Linked DNA regions of Homo sapiens: region 2 is linked to region 1. The links are contacts of gene promoters, found by promoter capture Hi-C in blood cells and fetal thymus (Javierre and others, 2016). All regions are on one chromosome and are shown on one strand. Each heading gives the region's core, a stretch centred on a gene start or on the middle of the fragment in contact. The rest is flanking DNA. Distances are from core to core; before and after follow the strand shown. Region 1 holds the start of HOXB13 (homeobox B13). Region 2 holds the start of LOC105371813 (a long non-coding RNA gene).

Region 1 (4,205 bases), core at 996-3,495:
AAGCGATCTTCCCACCTCCACTAGGATTAGTAGCTAGGATTACAGGCGTGCGCTGCCATGGGTGGCTTTGAGCAACTACAGATAAAGCTGCTGTGGACCTACTAGTACATGACTTTTGATGGATATAAAGGTTCATTTCTGTTGGGTTTATGCCCAGGAATGGAATTGCTGGGTCATAGGGCATGACTATGACTATTATTATTTTTTAAATTTAGGGATCTATTAATGCCTCTACTGTACAAGGATGAATAAATGTGCATGTGTGGGTGTTTGCCTAGTGGAAACTAAAACTGTGGACATGCCCTACATATCTATCATCTACCAAGTAAAAATTGGTGAAAAATTCTTAGTCTTTAGGTAAAAGTCTGGATATTTCTGCAGTTCATAATTAGACAAGCAAGAAACTCTGGTGAGAAACTGGAAAGCACTGAAGAGACATCTCCTCCCTTTTCTTCCATATTGTTTTCAAATGCGATCTAGTGAAGATTTCGTGCTTGGTGTCTTCAATTATAGCAATGCTCATTAGGAGTGATGTACACTACTGCCTGTGGGCCCTTTCCCACAAAGTGGCTCAAGTTCAAGGTCAGGTTGGTGAGAGGCTATGATTGAGTCTGCCCAGAGTTTAGGGTAAGCCATTCCATATAATTGTCAAGACCCTCGTGTAGAATGGAAACATTCCTGTCTTCTCCAGAAAAACTGGGAGTTCTAGAAAAAGCAGACAGAAGGATTTGATTTGGGAGGGGTAGTAAAGGAAGCGGAAAACCTCTAAAGACAGATTTGTGAAACAAACCGTTTGATTCTTCTGAATTGCACTGCACATTAGGCCCCAACAGAGGGGCCTCAAGCAATTCTGCCAGTGGCTGGGGTTTCCCCTTCCATTCCCTTTTCCTTGTAAGGAAGTTTAAAGCTTGCAGGAGGCAGATAGGGGTCTTGGGCTTTCTGGGTACTCAGCTTGTGTGGGAGTATGCCAGTATCAGGGACAGTTTCCTGGGCCCCTTGCAGACCATAGGGAGAGGACTGCAGGGCAGGGAGACTGGCATCTCCACACAGGCGTCTGTATTCTTGGGGTCCAGAACTCCCGCAGCTGGTTTCTGGCAGTCAGCCAGGCTTGGCTTCCTCAGACTTCTTTAGATCCCAAAAAAGGGGGAAAGTGCCTCTCTTCTTTCTCTTTTCTGACTGACACTTCAGGATTTTACAAGATTTTGTCCCATCCGCTCTGTCAGCTTCTCTCTTTCCCTCTTTGTGTTGCTGTCCCTGAGTCTCATCTCTCCCTCTCCCCGTCCCTCCCTCAAGTCCTGTGGGTCTCCGTCCCTCCGTATGTCTTTACTTAAAGGGAAATCCAGACCCTTCCACAGGCCACTCTAGAGGCTCCATTTCCCCTTCAGGTCCGGAAGTGGAGTGTCCTGGGTTCCATCCAGATCGCATGTCTTCTACGTCTACGTTCGTGTCTCCCGCCTCTTCCCTCAGCCTCACCCGAATCAGGGCCTCCAGAGCATTCTGGGCAGTAGCGAGTCCCTGGGTAAGGGGCGTCCAGGGCACCTCCCTGGGGCCCGGAGCAGCTCATTCCAGGACATCTGGGACAGGAAGGGTACCGGGAATGAACTGGGGTGCTAGTACCCAGGACCCAAAGCCAGGGGCTGCCAGAAATACCTATTAACCCCCATTTCCCAGCCTCCTCTTACACAGGCGCATTCCCGGGTTCTCCTCTGAGGCCGGGAGCGGCCTCCCAGCCCCACCCCCGACTCCCCTTCCCCCCCAGGAGATGGACACTTTATAGAGAGAGCTTTTTATTCTCTCGTTAAACCTGTCAAAGCGCAGGAGACAGAAAGCTAGGGAGGGAGAGGAGGAGAAGGAGGTGGGGCCCGGCTCCTCGTCCCCTCTTCCTCCGCCCACCACGCCTCCCCTCCCCCCGGACGTGTAAATGAGACTCTGCAAACTGGAAAGCAGCGAAAGGACACCTCCTTCCTTTTCTCTCTTGTTGTTTTTAAGTGGAATGAGAGAGAGAGGAGTGGAGAGGGAAAAGAAGAGAGAGAGGGAGAAGAGAGAGAGGAGAGAAAGAGCGAGAGAGCGAGAGAGAGAGACAGAGACAGAGAGAGAGAGAGAGAGAGAGAGAGAGAGAAAGAGAGAGAGAGAGAGAGAGAATAAGCTGGGGTAAAGTATTTTCGCAGTTTCTGCCTTTAGGATTTTATTAGCTTCTCTCCCCCAGGCCGCAGCCAATCAGCGCGCGTGCCCGGGCCCCTGCGTCTCTTGCGTCAAGACGGCCGTGCTGAGCGAATGCAGGCGACTTGCGAGCTGGGAGCGATTTAAAACGCTTTGGATTCCCCCGGCCTGGGTGGGGAGAGCGAGCTGGGTGCCCCCTAGATTCCCCGCCCCCGCACCTCATGAGCCGACCCTCGGCTCCATGGAGCCCGGCAATTATGCCACCTTGGATGGAGCCAAGGATATCGAAGGCTTGCTGGGAGCGGGAGGGGGGCGGAATCTGGTCGCCCACTCCCCTCTGACCAGCCACCCAGCGGCGCCTACGCTGATGCCTGCTGTCAACTATGCCCCCTTGGATCTGCCAGGCTCGGCGGAGCCGCCAAAGCAATGCCACCCATGCCCTGGGGTGCCCCAGGGGACGTCCCCAGCTCCCGTGCCTTATGGTTACTTTGGAGGCGGGTACTACTCCTGCCGAGTGTCCCGGAGCTCGCTGAAACCCTGTGCCCAGGCAGCCACCCTGGCCGCGTACCCCGCGGAGACTCCCACGGCCGGGGAAGAGTACCCCAGCCGCCCCACTGAGTTTGCCTTCTATCCGGGATATCCGGGAACCTACCAGCCTATGGCCAGTTACCTGGACGTGTCTGTGGTGCAGACTCTGGGTGCTCCTGGAGAACCGCGACATGACTCCCTGTTGCCTGTGGACAGTTACCAGTCTTGGGCTCTCGCTGGTGGCTGGAACAGCCAGATGTGTTGCCAGGGAGAACAGAACCCACCAGGTCCCTTTTGGAAGGCAGCATTTGCAGGTACCTCTATTACCCTGGGTCCCCTTGTCTCTGAGCCTGGGGTTGTGGGTCCCAATGGCATTTCCCTGGGAGGAGGAGGAGGGAGACTTGGAGCTGGTGAGGATGAGCTTGGTGCTCCTCCCTTGGTTATTAGGACTCTGAAGGAGGTCTGAGTAGCTGGAGGGCCTGGATGGAGGTCAGTGTGAGGGGCCTGAGCTGGGTGCTATCTGAAGCCTGAAGGCCACCTCACTTCTCCAGGAGGCCCTGGGACCAGCCTTTCAACATGTCTGAGAGGTTTAGATCTCTTTGCTGTTGAGTGGGGATCAGGGTGTCCCTACCCAGCACAATTCCAAACTAATTCTACACAAAAGCTAAATAACTCTCAATTCGGTGCGTGGGGAGTGGGTGTGGGAGATGGGTAAAAAGGTATTGGATGTACTGTAGAGAATACAACCTCTCACTTTCTATTAGATGAGTTTTCCAATTTCCAAAGAAAAATTTAGGTTTCCTGCAGCCGTGACATATGTGTGTGCACTGGGATGGGTTAATGTGTGTGTGTGTGTGTGTATGCGCATGTATTGGGAGTGGGGGCAGAAACGTGTTTCCAGAATTTGCCTGTAGAATCTAAAAGAGTGGCCAAGAGTCTGGAAATGCATGAAGACTGGACGTATGTGATGGTGGGCAAAGGCCTGACTGTGTGTGGTGTGTGGGTATGTTTGCAGATTCGCGGGTGTGAGAGCAGTGATGGGTGAGGGTGGCCTTCAGGAGCCAAGGCTGAGCGGTGGTGAGAGAACAAGCCGGAAGCCAGGGTGCTGTCCTGGTATGCTTTGGAGGAACAGGATTGCACGTGCGCCTGTAGGGTGACCTGTGTGCACCTGTGAGATGACTTAGCTTGGGGCTTGCAAGGCCTGGGTCTGCATGGGTGGGTATCTGACCATGCCTTTTCCTCCCTCCCTTTCACGCCGCGCAGACTCCAGCGGGCAGCACCCTCCTGACGCCTGCGCCTTTCGTCGCGGCCGCAAGAAACGCATTCCGTACAGCAAGGGGCAGTTGCGGGAGCTGGAGCGGGAGTATGCGGCTAACAAGTTCATCACCAAGGACAAGAGGCGCAAGATCTCGGCAGCCACCAGCCTCTCGGAGCGCCAGATTACCATCTGGTTTCAGAACCGCCGGGTCAAAGAGAAGAAGGTTCTCGCCAAGGTGAAGAACAGCGCTACCCCTTAA
Region 2 (3,957 bases), core at 1,302-3,801, 85 kb before region 1:
TCTCAGTTTCTAGAAGAATAAAAGATGGCATCTAAGTCAGCAAGATTCTTATTGTTCCCACTACAGGTGACTTGTCATTCTCAACACTTCTTATTGGCAAAGCCCTTGAGCAATTGGGTGCCCCATCCCTCCCTTGTTAGTTCACATTTTGCTTAGGACCCTTTCAGGCCCCGGGCTGAAATTCAAAGTGTGACTAAAACGAAAAGTCAAAAGACCACAAAAAACATCTTATTTTATCCTGTCTGAATCAAAGCTCAAAGCACTTTTCTAGATGTGAAGCTTTTATCCTCCTAGTGGTCCTGTAATTATAGAGAAGATAGGGAGTGGGAGAGGAAATAATTGCTTGGATTTTTATGACATACTGAGTTGGAGGGGCAAAGCTGAAAGCAAGATCCAGAGGTCTTACCTCCACATCTTTTCTTCCCCCATCCAATTTGACATTTTCCAAGAACCACTGGAGGCCTTCAGAGGGATGCTTCCAGTAGGGAAATGAGGACCAAAAGATGAAAAGGAGGTACGTGAAGGAAAACCTATTATCTGGTGAAAGAGAGGGACTTCACAGACAGACACAATAGGCGAAACTTTCAGTGCTCTATATATTCCTATAGACTAGAAAAAAAGTCCAGGTGATGAAGGTCAGAGATGAAAAAACTTGGCTACAACTTGAAATATGTTCTCCCAGGGTTCTCTTAGTCAACCACCAAATTATTGTTTTCTATCATTTATAGGATGCCCGTGTTCATTCAGTTTTGCAAAAGAAATCACTAAACTGCTGGGCGCGGTGGCTCATGCTTGTAATCCCAGCACTTTGGGAGGCTGAGGTGGGCTGATAACCTGAGGTTGGGAGTTTGAGACCAGCCTGACCAACATGGAGAAACCCCATCTCTACTAAAAATACAAAATTAGCCAGGCGTGGTGGTGCATGCCTGTAGTCCCAGCTCCCGGGAAGCTAAGGCGGGAGAATCACTTGAATCCAGGAGGCAGAGGTTGCGGTGAGCTGAGATCGTGCCATTGCACTCCAGCCTGGGCAACAGGCTGGAGTTTGAAAGAAAGAAAGAAAGATAAAAGAAAGCACTAAACATTTTCCACCCTCTGCAACACCTCCAGGGAAGAGGAGAGTAGTCAACAGGTATAGTCCTTCAGAAGTGGAAATAAGACAGGGACCCTCCTCTGAGTTTTTTCCAAATAACCCGCAATGGACCCGTCCCAGTGGACCCGTCCCAGTGCTCATTCCCTCCCCCTGGTGGCCAATGTAGGACATTTTCGTGCTGTCTAACCAGGATCTTGTTGACAGCCTCTGGCTTGGAAGATCTCAAGATCAAACCCTATACTAAAATGGAAGGAAACATGAGAATTTTTTCAGTGTCTTAACTATATCCTACTTGGAAAGGTGGACTAATACCCTTCCTTAATGACACAATGCTCTTTCTTGTGTCATTAAGAAAAACTGAAGATGCTATTTTGCTATTTACTGTGTTTGTTACATTGGTAGTACAGCTCTTAGTCTTTTTTTTTTTTTTTTTTTTTTTGAGACACTGTCTCCCTCTGTCACCCAGACTGGAGGGCAGTGGTGCGATCTGGGCTCACTGCAACGTCCGCCTCCCAGGTTCAAGCGATTCTCCTGCCCCAGCCTACCGAGTAGCTGGGATTACAGGCGCCTGCCACCATGCCCAGCTAATTTTTGTATTTTTAGTAGAGACGGGGTTTCACCATGTTTGCCAACTTGGTCTCCAACTCCTGACCTCAAGTAACCCACCTGCCTTGGCCTCCCAAAGTGCTGGAATTACAGGCGTGAGCCACCGCACCCAGCCTTAGTCTTTTAAAAACTCTCTAAAGCACTTAGTCCACTTTGTCTGTCCACTAACCCAGCATAATGGGAAGATAACTTGGGGACCAGGAAGCTGGGGTTTTGATGGTGCTTCTGATTTCTTGCTCTCTGGCTGGGTACAAGTCCCCTCCCCTAGCACAGACTGGCAGAGGGCAGAGAGTTCAAAACCTCCTCTAAAAAGATTCCTCCCAGCTCTAACATTCAGGAATTCCATAGAAGCTTAGAAAATATTCTAATTACACCCTTAATAGGAGCCCTGGTACAATGTGGACATTGGAGAAAAGAAGGGAAAGAGAGTGAAAATAAATACAAGTAGAAACAATACAGCTGTTACCAGGTTATGGCAAATCTGGAGAGATCCAAGCCCTTGTTGGAGATGGGAATTTAAAGCAGTTGACTTTAAGGAAAATGATGTGGGACCAACTGATTATTTTTCTCTTTTTCTTTTTCTTTTTGTTTTTGAGGCAAGGTCTAGTTCTGTCTCCCAGGCTGGAGTGCAGTTGTGTGATCTCTACTCGCTGCAACCTCAGCCTCCCGGGCTAAAGTGATCCTCCCACCTCAGCCTCCTGAGTAGCTGGGACTACAGGCACACGCCACCACACCTGGCTTATTTATTTATTTATTTATTGGTAGAGTGGGGTTTCACCATGTTGTCCAGGCTGGTGTCAAACCCCTGGCTCAAGTGCTCTGCCCACCTTGGCCTCCGAAAGTGCTGAGATTACAGGCATGAGCCATCGTGCCTGTCCCCAACTGACTCTTAAGAGACTAAAGTCACTAAGATTGCTTTTGGGAGTTAGGAGATCAGTTACTTTAGTTTATGGTCACACTATTTATGGATGGCCTGCCGAGAGGAAAAGGCAGTGAGGGGAGCATGGAGAGACAGGCTGTGGGGTCAGATGGACATGTCTTCCAACCCCAGCTGTGCCTCTTACCTTAGTCTCTCTGTCTCAGTCTTCTCATCTGTAATAGAGGAAAGAGTATCCATGATAGGTTATTATGAGGATGAGACATTATGTTTATAAATGCTTTAGTGTAATGTCTGCTACTTGGTAAGTGGGTTTTCAATAGTCTATTGTAAGTGAATGAAACAAGCATTTTAAGTGCCAGCTATATGAGAAGGACCCAAGGTTGATGTTTTAACAATGTAAATAACAAATGTTACTTACCTAATGCTCACAACAACACTTCTGTTATATAGCTAAGGAAAATGAACCTTGGAGAAGCTTAATTAGTTCATGCATTTATTCATTCTTCCAGCCCATTAATTCAAGGAGCATATGAACATCTCATTTTTAGTATCTTTTCTAGACACTGCTAGGAGCTGAGAATGCAGAGACACAGCCTCTTCCATCAGGAAGTTCACAGTCCAGGGTTACACAGCTGGTAATGGTAGAGAGCACTTTGTGGGTACCTTCTATGTGCCAGGCACTGTTCTAAGAACTTTGTGTTGCATTAAGTCAAATGAGTAAACTCATTTAATCTCCATAACTGGGAGAAGCCACTTTACAGATGAGGAAACTAAGGCAGGAGGTTAAATAAACTGCCTGAGTTCAGACAACTAGGAAGTGGCAGAGCTGGGATTTAAATCCAGACAGAGACTTCGAAATCTGAGTTCTTAGCTACTACACTGCAGCTGCCTCTTAATAAGTGGCTTAGTCACCTGTAGCTGACGGCAGAGGCCCTTACACCATGATGTATGTATATTTCAGGATGCCACCAGCAGCTCCCCTCACTCCTTTGTATTCTCCTTAGGCCATGTCTTTTGCCTTTCCTCCTTTTATTCCTCAAGGCTACAAGACTGCTTTTGGTGTTGGCACCAACAAAATTGTTACGCAAGACAATAGGTGGGAACTACCAGGTGAGCAGGGAGTGGTTGCTAAGACTGTTAAGAGAAGTCTTGTAGAACCAAATAAAGTCCACATCTGAAAAGTCTGAGCGGGGGGTGGGGGGGGGGGTCCCAGCATCACCTGGGTCAGATTTAATTCTTATTCTGAAAACCAGGGAATTAAAATGCTTTCTGGCTGGGCGTGGTGGCTCACGCCTGTAATCCCAACACTTTGGGAGGCCGAGGTGGGCGGATCACCTGAGTTCAGGAATTTGAAACCAGCCTGGCCAACATGGCAAAACCC

What was found. The method cuts DNA at HindIII sites, captures the fragments that hold promoters and counts their contacts. A CHiCAGO score of 5 or more calls a contact.
Region 2: a contact is called between a fragment that was not itself captured here and the fragment with the promoter of HOXB13 in region 1, in 2 of 17 cell types (megakaryocytes and endothelial precursors). The highest score is 6.2, in megakaryocytes.

What each region holds. Positions count from the first base shown.
Region 1 is chr17:48,726,790-48,730,994 of GRCh38, reverse strand. It overlaps HOXB13 (homeobox B13), which reads left to right and starts at 2,245. Exons shown (of 2, transcript NM_006361.6): 1 at 2,245-3,002; 2 at 3,952-4,205. The coding sequence starts at 2,402. The coding sequence ends at 4,205. The HindIII fragment of the contact is 3,706 bases long and covers 910-4,205 here.
Region 2 is chr17:48,811,891-48,815,847 of GRCh38, reverse strand. The region is part of intron 1 of TTLL6 (tubulin tyrosine ligase like 6); the gene reads left to right. It overlaps LOC105371813 (a long non-coding RNA gene), which reads right to left and starts at 3,608. Exons shown (of 4, transcript XR_001752926.1): 1 at 3,489-3,608; 2 at 2,761-2,788; 3 at 1-9. The HindIII fragment of the contact is 1,004 bases long and covers 2,050-3,053 here.